Regions from separate parts of the Homo sapiens genome. Here region 2 is linked to region 1. The links are contacts of gene promoters, found by promoter capture Hi-C in human tissues and cell types (Jung and others, 2019). All regions are on one chromosome and are shown on one strand. Each heading gives the region's core, a stretch centred on a gene start or on the middle of the fragment in contact. The rest is flanking DNA. Distances are from core to core; before and after follow the strand shown. Region 1 holds the start of TK1 (thymidine kinase 1). Region 2 overlaps LOC400622 (a long non-coding RNA gene).

Region 1 (7,439 bases), core at 3,328-5,827:
TATTTAACCTTGTTATTTTACTAAAAGATCAGATAACTTCCAAGTCAGCGAGGGAAAACGGGAGGACAGAGCGGAAGCTGGCAGGAAGAGTGATGCCAAGACAAGCCAACTTACAAACTGCCCCTCGTCGATGCCTATGACAGCCACGCCCAGGGCCTCCTGGGCCACGTCTCGGAGCAGGCAGGCGGGCAGTGCCTCCATGGTGTTCCTGGGAAGAGAAAGCCAGAGCGTGAGCAGGGCCAGGGAGGCCAGAAGCCACAATGCAGGGGCCAGGGAATGGCACTGTCGTGACCACCTGCTACCTGCAAAGCAGGCTCAGTGTTCACCCAGCCGGGCTTTGAGAAGTTAGCACCTATGGGAAAGGCCCTCGTCCAGAAAACCAGTTATTTATTTATTTTTTATGAAACAGAGTCTTGCTCTGTCACCCAGGCTGGAGTGCAGTGGCGCCATCTCGGCTCCCTGCAATCTCTACCTCCCAATTCTCAAGGGTCTCAAGCGATTCTCCCACCTCAGCCACAAGAGTAGCTGGGACTACTGGCACACACCATCACACCCAGCTAATTTTTGTATTTTTAGCAGACATGGGGTTTCACCATGTTGGCCAGGCTGGTCTCAGACTCCTAACTTTTAAGTGATCCACCCGCCTTAGCCTCCCAGAGGAAAACCAGTTATTTATACAAGCCACTTCACTTGATGCTTTGGATTAGAAATTAGTAATGTCCAGTACAAAGCTCAATGAGACTAAAAACTCTTCCACTGTTCAGGAGCTGGGGGCAGACTAGGCCAACTTCATCAGGTACCAGGGCCCATGATACCATTAGGGGCCAGCCAAATGTTTCCTTTTAAAATTCAGAAGAATGAATAACTAGAACTGGGCCTGGGTTATATTTGTCTTTATATTAATTATGTTGCAAAACATAAATTTTTAAAATCCTGTATTCTGGCCAGACACAGCAGCTCATGCCCGTAATCTTTGGGGAGGCCAAGACGGGAGGATCACTTGAACTCAGGAGTTCGAGACCAGCCTGGGTAACACAGCGAGACACTGTGTGAAAAAAATGTAAAAATTAACTGGGTGTGGTGGTGTGCGCCTGTAGTCCCACCTGCTCAGGGGGCTGAGGTGGGACGATCACTTGAGCCCAAGGGTTTGGGGTCACGTAACAGTAAGCTATGATTGAGCCACTGCACTCCAGCCTGGGTGACAGAGAGAGACCCTGTCCCAAAAACAAACAACAAACAAACAAAAAAACATACTTTACAACTATTGTTTCGTTATTACCTTGCTATAATCCTACTTCGAGTTCTGGAAAGAATGTGTGAAACAGTATTTTGGGCATTTTAAATTCCCTCTTCCCTCCCTAAACAGAGAAAGACAAAGTGAGGGCAGGTGGGAGGCCAGCTGTGGCCCCTGCAAGGGCAGCCTCTCGAGCCATCAATGCTGCTGGCCCAGCCTTGGCCTCTGTGGCCCGTGTTAGAGATGACTTGTGACACACGGGCAGAACTCATATTTAATCCCGGATCTGACTGACTCCAGAAGTTGTACTTCCAACAGCTGGAACGAAGTGACCTCCTCTGCTTTCCCTGTCCCCACCAGGTGTAACACCACCCTGTGCCGTGGACATCGCATCTTAGGAATGAGGAAGCAAATTTGGAAAAGTAAATGACCTACATCAGACAGCATGGTCACGAAGTGCGGTTAAATTCCCACATGCAACTCCAAGCCCCAAGCACCCTCCACTCCACCAGCATCTGGCTTCAGGAGCCCCTCAGCTCCCACCGAAGGCCACACGCCGGGTGGATCTGTTCTCTGCACAGCCATAGCAACTCTCGGATACAGCTCCCAGCCAGGGCTCTGAGGCTGAAGCCCTATAATGTGTGGCACAGCATGGCTTTGCCACTGGGTGCCCAGGTGGACAAGTCCAGAGGACCAAGCAAAGCGTCTCAGGCTCAGAAACATCAGGCCCACATCTGCTGCCAAGGAAGTGAATTTAACTCCCAAACTGAGGTTGCAGGCGGAAATGTCCAGCGAGCTCAAACAGCTACACATAAAACAGGGAAGCGTGAAGGCTGCCAGGTGACGGGGGAGCCAGCCAACAACGGACAACTAAAAAATTAAACAAAAATCAACGTGCAGGCCAAACCAAACCAGTCTGCAGCCTGTGTGAAGCTGAAACCCTACGGCAGAGTTTCTGAACACTGGCAGGCTCCTGACATTTGGGGCCAGCTCGTTCTTGCATGGGGGCCGTCCTCTGCACCATAGGACCCTTAGCAGCAGTGTCCCTGATTTCTACACATTAAAGCCCAAAAGCATCCCCTCCCCCCTCCAGTTGCAACAACTAGAAATGTCTTCAAACATTGTCAAATGGACCCTGGCGGCAAAATCACCCTCAGTGGAGAACCACTGGCTCCAGCCCAGGGAGTGGAGAGTGTGCGCTACCTTGCCAAGCACCTTGGAAAGTGTGCTGATTTGAATCATTCAATGTTCAAATGATTAACCATCCCCATTAAAGAGAGTCCTAACAGTGTGTCCTGTGCCTTGTGATTTTCCACTGGACAGGACTGCAGGGGGCAGGGACTGACCGGTCATGTGTGCAGAAGCTGCTGCTGTAGCGAGTGTCTTTGGCATACTTGATCACCAGGCACTTGTACTGAGCAATCTGGAAGCGACGGACGCGTCTCATCAACTCTGTGCTGCAAGAGGAGAGAGGGTCAGGTGAGGTCCACGGCGGGAGGAGTGGGAGAAGGAGACCCCTCCCCAACAAGCCTGGCTCCTCATTGTCCCTAGTGGTATGCAGACTGAGCCCACCACAGCCAGAAAAGAGCAGGGCAGAGCAGGCAGGGTATAATATCCCTACAAAGAGGGTTGGAAGTCAGAATTCTCTATGGGGAAGAGGTCCAGGAATGGTACTCAGGTGGTCCCAGGAAGTGTGGGAGGAGTAACCTTCTCCAAGATGTAGTGGGGAAGGCAGAAGCAAAGGCTACATGTAGAGGGAACCTGCGACTGCATTCCAAAGTAACCTCATCCCAGAGTTGTTCCCAGAGTTCAGAGTTTTTCTTTCTTTCTTTTTGGGGTGGAGTCTCGCTCTGTTGCCTAGGTTAGAGTGCAGTGGAGCGATCTCAGCTCACTGCAACCCCTGCCTTCCGGGTTCAAGAGATTCTCCTGCCTCAACCTCCCGAGTAGCTGGGATTACAGGAGGCTGCCACCATGCCCAGATAATTTTTGGTTTTTTTTTTCAGTAGAGATGGGGTTTTACCACGTTGACCAGGGTGGTCTCAAACTCCTAACCTCAAGTGATCAACGCACCTCAGCCTTCCAAAGCGCTGGGATTAAAGGCGTGGGCCACCACACCTGGCATACAGCTTTTCTAAATTAATTTCAGAAAGTCTTTGTGTGCAGCGTCAAAAGCACTTGCTTCTGGGTCCAAGAAGTCCAACTCTGAGCCACATCTTCCTGAGCAAGGGGTTTGAGCTGAAGTGATCCCCAGGGCCATAAAAGAATGTTGGGGCAGGGCATGGTGGCTAACATCTGTAATCCCAGCACTTTGGGATGCTGAAGTAGGAGGATTGCTTGAGACCAGGAGTTCAAGACCAGCTTGGGCAACATAGCAAGACCCCAGCTCTATAAAAATAAAATAAAATTAGCTGGGTGGAGGCGGGGGGGTGCACGCCTGTAGTCCCAGCTACTTGGGAGGCTGAGGTGAGAGAATTGCTTGAGCCCAGGAGTTTGAGACCAGCCTGGGCAACATAGCAAGATCCTACCTCTAGAAGAACAAAAACAAAACAAAAAGAATGGTGCGTGGGTAGTTTACTCAAGAAACTCACTAGCCCCACCCGGGTCAGGGAATGGTTCTATCACCTCAGGAGAGCAGAGGCTCCACGGCTTCAGACTCCTTGGTTTAGAAAGCGACTACGTTTCCTTGGCCTTAGAAGGAAACAGCCACATTGAATAGGGGTGTACAAAAAGGCCTGGCCTACAGGGGACACAACTGGTTGCCACCTTCTCAGAGGACTTGGTGGGGAAGACAGCTAAGCTGTAAGCAGCTGTCACCAGCTCCAGGAGGGAGTGGCGTCCACACAGGACGAGGGGCTTGGCCTGGGCAGAAGAGGGCAGAGACTTCCTCCTGGACTGAATTCAAGGGAGGAGCACCCCAGGCGGGAGCTGTAGGAGGCTGTGCTGGTCCTTCTAGGGGAAGGGAAGGGGAGGGAAGGGAAGGGGAGGGGAGGGGAGGGGAGGGAAGGGGAGGGGAGGGACGGGACAAGGGGTCCCCGGAGAAGAGGAAGGAGCTCCACCCCAGCCCCGCGAAGCCATTACCTTTTTCCTGAGAACATCGGCCCGAGAATCACCTAGGAGAGAAGGTGAGGTCATTTGAGGGCCCGCCCTGCGCGGATGCCTGGACACAGGCTATCACCACGACCACCTCATCCCCAGCCACGCGCAGGGCTGGCCCCCGCACCTGGATCTGCCCCCGGGTCTTGCTGGGGGAGCCAGGCAGCACAGTGGGCAGGTTAATGCAGCTCATTGCGCCTCCGGGAAGTTCACGAACCCGAGTACTCTCCAAGGCCGTCCCGCAGTAAGCCCCTGGTTCCCGCGCCGACCGCTTTAAACCACGGCGTGCTGGCCAATCACGAGCCGGCCCCGCCGCCATGGGGCCAATCAGCGCCCGGCCGCTGACCTGGCGGGAGATTTGGCCGCAGCCCGCCCCCTCGTGGGAGGAATCCGGGACGTGCGCCCAGGGACTGGGAGGGCCTGGAAATCAGGGCGATGGACGTGGCTGATCGGGGTGGGGCCTGGTCTGAGCCCCGCCTCGGTCCGCCCACCAAGTTTAAAGGGGCGGAGCGAGGCGGGGCTCTGGCCATATAAACAGAGGGACGCACGCCCATGCGGCTGTAGACGCCATGATGGATGTGTCTGGTGTGGGTTTCCCAAGCAAGGTTCCTTGGAAGAAGATGTCTGCAGAGGTAGGTGGATTGCAGGGAGGGACTAAGGGGCTGGGGCGGAGTTAGCTCATTTATTAGATTGGAATTCCAAGAAGGAAGCTTAGAAGCCGTCTAGAGCACTCCTGTGGGCATGCAGAGCGCCTAGTGCGTGCCAGGTCCCCAGTGCTTGAGCACCATGGTGTATTTTACCTTCTCCTAAGGATTTTTGTTAACCTGGTTTTCAGGATAAAGAAAATTGAAGTCCTGACTATGCTAATAATATCCGTAGACCCTGCCAGGCGTGGCGGCTCACACCTGTAATCCTAGCACTTTTGGCGGATCACGAGGTCAGGAGTTCGAGACCAGCCTGGCCAACATGGTGAAACCCCGTTTCTACTAAAAATACAAAAATTAGCCGGGCGTGGTGATGTACCTCTGTAATCCCAGCTACTGGGGAGGCTGAGACAGGAGAATCGCTTGAACCCAGGAGGTGGAGGTTGCAGTGAGCCGAGATCATGCCATTTGTACTCCAGCCTGGAAGGCTGGGCGATAGACCAAGACTTAGTCTCAAAAAAAAAAAAAAAAAAAAAAAAAAAAATCCATAGACCCGCAGGAGGTTAGGGGACAAAGTTCTGGACCTTGATCTGAGGTTACACAATGTTTTTGGGTCTGTGCTTATGTGGCACAGGCTGAAGGATTCAGAACAGCTGGTATTTACATTGGGGTTGTGAAGGTTAGAAACATACAGGCCGGGTGCGGTGGCTCAAAAAAAAAAAGAAAGAAAGAAAAGAAACCCATTGTATAATCATGATCATAAATAATAGCAACAAAGATGGTGGTAGTGATCACAGAGTGTGCCAGGTGTGGCTGTAAGGATCCTACAGGTAATAACCTTTCCAGGTACAGATTGGACAGATCCAAGGACCTCTGACAAAGAGCTCCTTCACTGGGAGGAAGAAGCAACCCACACTGACTGGCTTGCTTTATTTTACTCGCATGCTTTATCTCTTTTAACCTTGTGATTTGGATACATGCCTTCTTTTTTTGAGACACAGTCTCGCTCAGTCACCCAGGCTGGAGTGCAGTGGCATGATCTCGGCTCACTGCAACCTCTACCTCCCGGGTTCAAGTGATTCTCCTGCCTCAGCCTCCCGAGTGGCTGGGATTACAGGCACACTGTAGCTGGTACTACATGCCTGGCTAATTTTTTTTTTTTTTCTTTTGAGACAGAGTCTCGCTCTATCGCCCAGGCTGGAGTGCAGTGGCGCGATCTGGGCTCACTGCAACCTCTTCTTCCAGGGTTCACGCCATTCTCCGGCCTCAGCCTCCTGAGTAGCTGGGACTACATGCGCCCGCAACCATGCCCGGCTAATTTTTTTGTATTTTTAGTAGAGATGGGGTTTCACTGTGTTAGCCAGGATGGTCTCCAACTCCTGACCTCATGATCCGCCCCCCTTGGCCTCCCAAAGTGCTGGGTTTACAGGCATGAGCCACTGCGCCTGGCCAATTTTTGTATTTTTAATAGAGATGGGGTTTCGCCATGTTGGACAGACTGGTCTTGAACTCCTGGCCTCAAGTGATCCACCCGCCTCGGCCTCCCAAAGTGCTGAGATTACAGGTGTGAGCCACTGTGCCGGGCCTGGATAGATACCTTCTACCAGTCAGGAAACTGAATCTCAGAGACTAAGTAACTTGTTGAGGATAAAACAGTAAGTAAGTGAGGGAGGTCAGATGGCATTTGACCTCAGGCCTTGCCATGAGGCTGCCCTGACTTCCCATTTCTCATGATGGTTTTGAGCCCTTTCTTCAAAATCTGGTTCCTTGTTACTTTTTTTTTTTTTTTTTTTTGAGATGGAGTCTCGCTGTTGTCACCCAGGCTAGAGTGCAATGGTGGGATCTCAGCTCGCTGCAACCTCCACCTCCCGAGTTCCAGCGATTCTCCTGCCTCAGCCTCCCGAGTAGCTGAGATTACGGGCGCCCGCCACCATGCCCAGCTAATTTTTGTATTTTTAGTAGAGACGGAGTTTCACCATGTTGGCCAGGATGGTCTCGAACTCCTGACCTCAGGTGATTCACCCGCCTCAGCCTCCCAAAGTGCTGGGATTACAGGTGTGAGCCACCACGCCCAGTGTTTTGTTTTTTTTTTTTTGAAACAGGGTTTTGCTCTCTCAGGCTGGAGTGCAATGGCGCAATCTTGGCTCACTACAATCTCTGCTTCCTGGGCTCAAGCGATTCTCCTGCCTTAGCCTCCCGAATAGCTAGGACTACAGGTGTCCACCACCATGCCCGGTTGATTTTTCATATTTTTCGTAGAGATAGTGTTTCGCCATATTGCCCAGACTGGTCTGGAACTCCTGGACTCAAGTGATCTGCCTATCTTGGCCTCCCAAAGTGCTGGGATTACAGGCGAGAGCCACCGTGTCCAGCATTTTCTGTTGGTTTTTTTTTTTTTTTTTTTGAGATGGGGTCTCACTCTGTCGCCCAGGCTGGAGTGCAGTAGCATGATCCCGGCTCACTGCAAC
Region 2 (7,439 bases), core at 1,811-4,310, 660 kb before region 1:
GCACAATTCCGGCAGCATCTCTCCTCCCGGTCATTTGCATAGCACAACCTCTCCCTCCACCCCCTCCTGTCTCCCACGTGGATCTTCATGTAATTAATTAATATCGCGTTCATCAGAGCTTAATTCATGTTCTTGTAATATACAAGGATTAAAAAAAAATCCTACCAAGAGAGCAGTAATAGGCTCCGGCTTTTCTGGTCTGGGAGCAAATATAATGAGCCTCCATGAAAATATTGAATCGCTTCCCGCAGTCTCCACACCTCAGAGCACTGGCATGTTTACTGTGGTAAGCCACCCCTGTGTTTAGAAACATCACGGCCTGCTTTCCTACAGGGGTAGCCATGCTGGGGGCCTCTCTGGAGCCTCTCCTAGGAGTGCATTCAGCAGGGCAGAGGCTCGGAGCTCTTCCCGGGGGTACATTCAGCAGTGGCAGAAGCTCAGCAGATGATGGGGTTCTGTGTGGGTGAGAGCTGAGGGTTGGGTTTCCTGCACAATGCCAAGAGTGCCAAGAGTGGCATTGCAAGTTACTCCTTCCCTCCCAGAGCCCATTTATTTTTAAGCCACCCTCTCCCCTCCACTACAGTGTGATGGCTTCTCCATGCTAATCGCCCTATAGAACAAGGAGAAAAGGAAAGGTGGGCCCTTCACGGTATATATTTTGCTCTTTGATTGGAACGAAATGAACTCAGTGTAACGTCCAGGCTGTTGTGGGGGCTGGGTTGTTTCTGGACAGAAAGTCCCATCTGTGTCCAGGGGGCCGCGTCTGAGTTCGGGGCATCCACACTGGCACGCTGTTTTGCTCGGAGCTGGGACATAACACGTGGGCTGTGTGAGCGCTCTTGGGGGCTGGAAACCCAAGGGGCCGATCAAGGGTTCTTGATTCAACCAAACCTCCCCCTTGCCATCCTCCATGCAGAACGCGTCCCTGGGGCCTTCACCCTGTCGTGAACAAAGCACGACTATTTTGTAAAGGGAAGATCAAAGAGCCAGAAGTCGCGGATGAGTGTGTGGCAGGTGGGGACTCAGAGTGACAGTGGCCATGCGGTGTGTCCCGTGGTCGCCCCAGAGGCGGATGGGCCAGGCCGCTGCACATACCCTGGGAGGAGGCAGGTGGGGAGGGAACCCGAGGACCCTGCCTATGTTCACCCCTCTGTTCCTCTCTGGGACCCACTATGGCTGGAAGGGACTTTTTCCTTCTCCCCCCACCCCTCCCCTCCTCACCTTCCCTCCCCCTGCTTTTTAATTTCTTCCCTTTTGCAAGGCTTTTTGTCCAGCTGGGGCTGGGAAGAAGATGCCCCCGACCCCCTCTCGTGGTCGCCAGGGTAGGGGTGGGAGGAATCTGGAAGCCACGTGCGATGCTCGGAGCTGCGTCCTCTGTCCTGGGGCGTGGGTCCGCGAGCGCCGCGCAGCCTCCCGGACCGCCCTGAGCTGCTGCGCCCGGCGCTGCTCCTCCTTCCCCAGCTCCGCGCCTTCCCCTCGCGATCCCCCTCCTGCCTCTTCGGTCCTGGAAGCGTCCCAAGATGGGGTGGGGGCATGGAGGGAGAGAGGGGAGGAGGGAGCTGCCCGGGGGCAGTGCCGCCAGGAAGTGGGACGGGGACTCTGGCGCCCCTCCAGGCTGCTGCGCGCGGGCTGGGGACCGTGCACCGCTTTGCGCGCCAGACGATGCATCTTCTGGAACGGCAGCTGAGGCAATGCGGGGTGTGAAGTGGCGGCGGGCAGAGGGGCTCGCAGGGGCTGGGATCCGCGTGCCCCTCTCTGCCTCGGTGCGGAGCACGATGTGCCCGGGCGGGGGCGAGGACGTCCGGGAGGGGCTGGGCTGCGCACGCTCGCGGGGCCGTCGCAGATGGGCGGTTTGGAGGCGCTGCAGTCCCTGGGAAATGGGAGCCTCCGTCCTGTTCTCTCTGCTGCTTGGCTGGGCTGGGCTGGGCAGGGCAGGAAAGCCAGGGTCCCCACCCCTCCTGGAGCAGAGCACTCCGCGCTGGCTGTTCCGGGGGCCCGGGAGGGCAGAGCTGTCAGAAGGTCTGTCTGGCATCATTAGGGGAGCTGTCTGTCTCTCTATCCCTGGCTGGCGTGGCCCGGCAGGAGGCGAGGCTGATATTTTCAGGAGACCTGGTGATTTGACCTGACACCTGTCAGTCAGGTAAGCGCTGGCCTCCTGCCTGCATCCCCCTGGGGAAGAGCCGGTTCTGCTCCCTGACCGGGAACGGGTCCCTCAGTGCTGAGGATGGCAGTTAATGAGCCCGCCGAGGGGCTGCCCACCGGGTGCACAGGCAGGAGCAGTGGGCATATCCCCTGCTTGCCAGGCCCTGCAGAGGGGCTGCCTTCTCCCCCAATGCCTTCTGCCCCCTTCTAGTGTCTCCAACATTGACCCTGGAAATCACTTTCTTGCTTCTCTTATCAGGATAGTCCTACATGTCTGGAACTTTCTGGGATGTTCTCTGTGCCTTGGAAGTGTTTATTTATTACTTTAAAATCACCTTTAGGGTCTTTATCCTTAAAGATAAAGCCAGTACCTAGAACCAGGTGTCCTTCCCGCAGGGCTTTAGGCCCTACCTGACTTGGGTTCTCAGTCAACCCTTTCCTTCCCTGTGTAACGTGGGTTTTGGCTTTTGCGGAAGTAATCTGTTATGGTCTAAATTGTGTCCTCCCCAAATCCATATATTAAATCCCTAAGCCCCTGGCTGGGCGTGGTGGCGAGCACCTGTAATCTCAGCACTTTGGGAGGCCGAGTTGGGGGCGATCACCTGAGGTCAGAATTTCGAGACCAGCCTGGCCAACATGGTGAAACCCCGTCTCTACTAAAAATACAAAAATCAGCGGGGAGTGGTGGTGGCTGCCTGTAATCCCAGCTACTCCAGAAGCTGAGGCTGGAGAATCACTTGAACCCGGGAAGCAGAGGTTGCGGTGAGCTGAGATCGCGCCATTGCATTCCAACCTGGGGGACAACAGCGACACTCTGTCTCAAAAAAATAGATAAATAAAATAAAAATAAAATAAATCCCGAAGCCCCAGTATCTCAGGATATGATTGTATTTGGAGATACAGCCTTCTATGACCTTCTATAACCTCAGTCCCCAACCTTTTTGGCACCAGGGACTGGTTTCGTGGAAGGCAATTTTTCCACGGACCCGGGTGGGGTGGGGGGTGGTTTCGAGGTGATGCAAGCACGTTACATTGATCGTGCACTTTATTTCTGTTGTTATTACATTGTAATATATAATGAAATAATTATACATTTCATCATAATGTAGAATCAGAGGGACCCTGAGCTTGTTTTCCTGCAACTAGATGGTCCCATCTGGGGGTGATGGGAGACAGTGACAGATCATCAGGCCTTGGATTCTCATAAGAAGCACGCAACCTAGATCCCTCACATGTGCCGTTCACAACAGGTTTCATGCTCTTGTGCACATCCAATGGTTCCTAAAGGGCCACAGACCGGTACTGGTCCTTGGCCCAGGGGTTGAGGACCCCTGTTCTATAAGGTCGGGAGAGAGGCCTCAGAAGAAACCAACCCTGCCGAGACACCTTGATCTCAGACTTCAGCCTCCAGAACTGCGCGGTGATGCGTTCCTGTTGAAGGCACTCTGACCGCAGTGGCTTGCCGTGGCAGCCCTCGACAACAAATACAGGGTCTGTTGAACCAAATGAATCCAAAATGTATGCCCAAAGATAGCCGCCAGGTCTATGAAAACACCTGCTCTGATATGAGGGGACGTGGACCACAGAGGTGAGTGCTGGAATTCAAGTTGGTCTCCTTAGTCATTCTCCTGCCCCACGCCCCCTGCCCCTGTAACAGTTACATTGTCTTAAATCGTACTCGTTTAAAAAGGTATTTACACAACAGATCAACATTTAAGTACATGTTTAAAAGCAATTATGAATGTGCTCACCTGTCAGGGCAGGATGGTTTTGCTCATGTGTTTCCAGTTGGTTGGGTAAATAATCAGCTCGGGTGTTGTTTTGTTTTACACCTACCCCCTACTGTAATTGTGTGTTTACTTTTATGATAACGTCACATCACTCTCATATTTAACTACTAGCAGGGATTAAGTTATTCCAATAAAAGACAGAGAAATAAATTTCAGACCCTGTTTCCTGCCTATCCCCACCCCCATCGTTCAAAAATTGGACAATTTTCCAAGATGATCGGAAGCAGTTTTGAGCATTTGGAAGCCATGGATGCCCTGGCCCGTGGCAGTGTTTTTCAACAGTAACCCACTTGCCGATAAGGTCTCCCTGTGTGGGGTCAAAGGATGTGGCCCCTGCCATCCTTGTGGTCACTAGGGAGGGTACAGGCCTGTGTGCCACACCCCAGCCTAACTCCTCCTGGGGCCTGGGCAGTTTTGATCACTAAGTCCTGACTCTGCCATGGAAGAGGCATCTTCTGGGCGGACACTGATGTTCAGTGGCCTCCAGGGGACTTGGCGGGTCCCCTTGACACACTGGAGGCTCCCTGGCTAGATTCCCCTCCCAGACACCCTCATTCCTGTATCTCCAGGACTGGAGAGGCCTGCTGGCCATCCAGGAGGATGTTTCTGTTGTCGGGCAGATGGTCAGCCCCATGCAGAGGATGGGAAAGCTTCACCTGCCACAGTTGGTAGGTATCTCAACAAGGAGACCGTTTAGTAACTCACTGTGTTCGTGCCAAGATGGCCATGTCGGGCAGCACAGATCCACTGTGGCCAGCAAGCTTACAGACACTGTGTGTTGTCAGAGCAGAGACAGTGTGGAGTTAACATCGTCTTCATCACCACAAACTGCCCTTGCAGGAGCTTGGAGGGGACCCAGGTGCTGGTAGTGACCTTGGCACATTCACAGGGTGACGGCAGAGACAATGGTGGTGACGATAGTTGGGATAGTAACTCAGACTCACAGCTGCGTCCATGTCTTGCAAAATCACGTGGTCTCAGTTGGTCCTCACAGTCCTGGAAATTGTCATATTCTTGAGCTGTAGGGTGGAGGTGGGCAGGAGGCAAGGTCTAAAATTCACTTCTCTCTGCCCGACAACAGAAACATCCTCCTGGATGGCCAGTAGGCCTCTCCAGTCCTGGAGATACAGGAATGAGGGTGTCTGGGAGGGGACTTTAGCTAGGGAGCCTCCAGTGTGTCAAGGGGACCTGCCAAGTCCCCTGGAGGCCACTGAACATCAGTGTCCACCCAGAAGATGTCTCTTCCATGGCACAGTCAGGACTTAATGGGTCCTGAATGGGTCCTCTCTTCCTTTGCTCACAGAAGGTTTTGTGATGATGCCAACAACCAGGACTGCCCTTGCCTTCCTTCAGATTGCCAGAGCAGTCAGGAATCTTCTGCCCTTAGAGTATATCGCGGGGTCCTCCCTCCACATCCTTGCTGATAGAGCTCTGGAGAGGGCCTTTGGGGAGCGTGTGACTATCCCCGGCATAGTCGCCCCCCATCAACACTTATTGTAGGGAAGGAAAGAAGCCAAACGTCTTACTGTCCCATTTTACAGATGAGGAGATGGGCACAGAGAAGTTCAGCAACGTGGCTCAGGTCGAATGCTTGTGATTTTTATTTTTGTTGTTTTTTTGCTTGTGATTTTTATGTCTTACACATTTCCTGGTGCCCTTCTGAAAAAATTCCACGTTGGAAACTTTGGGACATGAAGCCATTTACCAGTCAGGTCATATGTCTAGGGAGACACTATTGCTACAGGTGTCAAGAAGTTTTGCTCCAGAAAAATGTCCAGACCAATTCTGCTTCCCAAGTAGGCCAGGATATCCACAGGACACCTTGAAACAGTGACTCCCTCCTGCATTTTGTTGATTGATTGATTGATTTTTGAGACAGGGTCCTGCTCTGTCACCCAGGCTGGGGTGCAGTGGCTCAATGTCAGTCCACTGCAACCTCCACCTCCCTGGTTTAAGTGATTCTCTGGCCTCAGCCTCCCGAGTAGCTGGGACTACAGGCATGCACCACCACATCCGGCTAATGTTTGTATTTTTAGCAGAGATGGGGTTTCACCATATTGGCCAGGCTGGTCTTGAACTCAAGATGATTCGCCCAACACAGCCTCTCAAAGTGCTGGGATTACAGGTATGAGCTGCTGCACCCAGCCCCGCCTGCATTTTAAATGGCTGCAGCCACACACAACATGCTTTCCTCCTTTGCAAGCTCAGCTGGGGGGGTGGGTAAGGGAGGGGCTCAGGGGCGGTGCTGTTGGTTCTTTTTACCTGGGTTTTCTCACGCAGAGTAATTGTGAGAAGAACAGGGTTTCCTCTCCTGAACTCGGAGGAAACAGAAAAAAATTTCCTACTAGCAAAAGCAGGCAGAAAAGAAATTTTAGAAGTAAAAGAAGTTTTACTTCTTAATTAGACTTTTCAATTTATTTATTTATTTTTATTTATGTTGTGAGATGGAGTCACACTCTGTTGCCCAGGCTGGAGTGCAGTGGCACGATCTTGGCTCACTGAAACTTTCGCCTCCCAGGTTCAAGCAATTCTCCTGCCTCAGCCTCCTGAGTAGCTAGGATTACAGGTGCCTGCCACCATGCCCGGCTAATGTTTGTATTTTTAGTAGAGACGAGGGTTTCACCATGTTGGCCAGGCTGGTCTCAAACTCTTGACCTCAGGTGGTCCACCTGCCTCGGCCTCCCAAAGTGCTGGTATTACCCAGGAGGCTGAGGCAGAAGAATCGCTTGAACCTGGGAGGCGGAGGTTGTGGTGAGTGGAGTGGAGATTGCGCCACTGCACTCCAGGCACTCCAGCCTGGGCAACAAGAGTGAGACTCCATCTCAAAAAAAAAAAAAAAAAAAGACATGAAGCCAGACAATGGGCCCAAAATGCCAGGGATGATCTGAGGTCCTCAAAAAGGGTCCAGGAAATGCTATATATAAAGAGTCAGAGTTGTGTACCAAGAAACATACCCATCCACTGTGTGTATACCCTGCACTTCCTGGCCCTCCATGCTTGGGCATGGACGTGTGATATGGTTTGGCTGTGTCCCCACCCAAATCTCATCTTGAATTCCCATGTGTTATGGGAGGGACCCGGTGGGAGGTAATTGAATCATGGGGGTGGGATTTTCCCATGCTGTTTTCATGATAGTGAATAAGTATCGTGAGATCTGATGGTTTTATAAGGGGGAGTTTCCCTGCACAACCTCTCTCTTTGCCTGAGCCATCCATGTAAGACATGACTTGCTCCTCCTTGCCATCCACCATGACTGTGAGGCCTCCCCAGCCATGTGGAAGTATAAGTCCATCAAACCTCTTTTTCTTCCCAGTCTCCGGTATGTCATTATCAGCAGTGTGAAAATGGACTCACTCCCACCCTGTCTGGATCTGGACAAGAGCCCACCACCCCGTTGGCAGTAGTCAGGCAGCTCTGCTTCTAAGAACCTGCAGCTTTTGGAAGAAAGGCACCCTGTGGTTTCAGAAGCCCAAGAGTCCCTGCAGCTCAGCACCCCCAGCCTGGTGC

What was found. Contacts are between HindIII fragments. The study calls those that stand out against the background at their distance.
Region 2: a contact is called between a fragment that was not itself captured here and the fragment with the promoter of TK1 in region 1, in 1 of the 25 tissues and cell types used here (heart right ventricle).

What each region holds. Positions count from the first base shown.
Region 1 is chr17:78,182,475-78,189,913 of GRCh38, forward strand. TK1 (thymidine kinase 1) reads right to left here and starts at 4,578. Exons shown (of 7, transcript NM_003258.5): 1 at 4,455-4,578; 2 at 4,313-4,344; 3 at 2,581-2,691; 4 at 115-208. The coding sequence starts at 4,520. It overlaps AFMID (arylformamidase), which reads left to right and starts at 4,888. Exons shown (of 11, transcript NM_001010982.5): 1 at 4,888-4,959. The coding sequence starts at 4,897. RefSeq lists an enhancer at 1,791-2,692 and a silencer at 4,731-4,870. The HindIII fragment of the contact is 12,138 bases long and covers 1-7,439 here.
Region 2 is chr17:77,527,210-77,534,648 of GRCh38, forward strand. LOC400622 (a long non-coding RNA gene) reads left to right here. Exons shown (of 3, transcript NR_148967.1): 2 at 7,246-7,439. Among named protein-coding and RNA genes, the nearest start is that of MIR4316, 130 kb to the left of the region's middle. RefSeq lists enhancers at 417-917, 918-1,418. The HindIII fragment of the contact is 3,153 bases long and covers 1,485-4,637 here.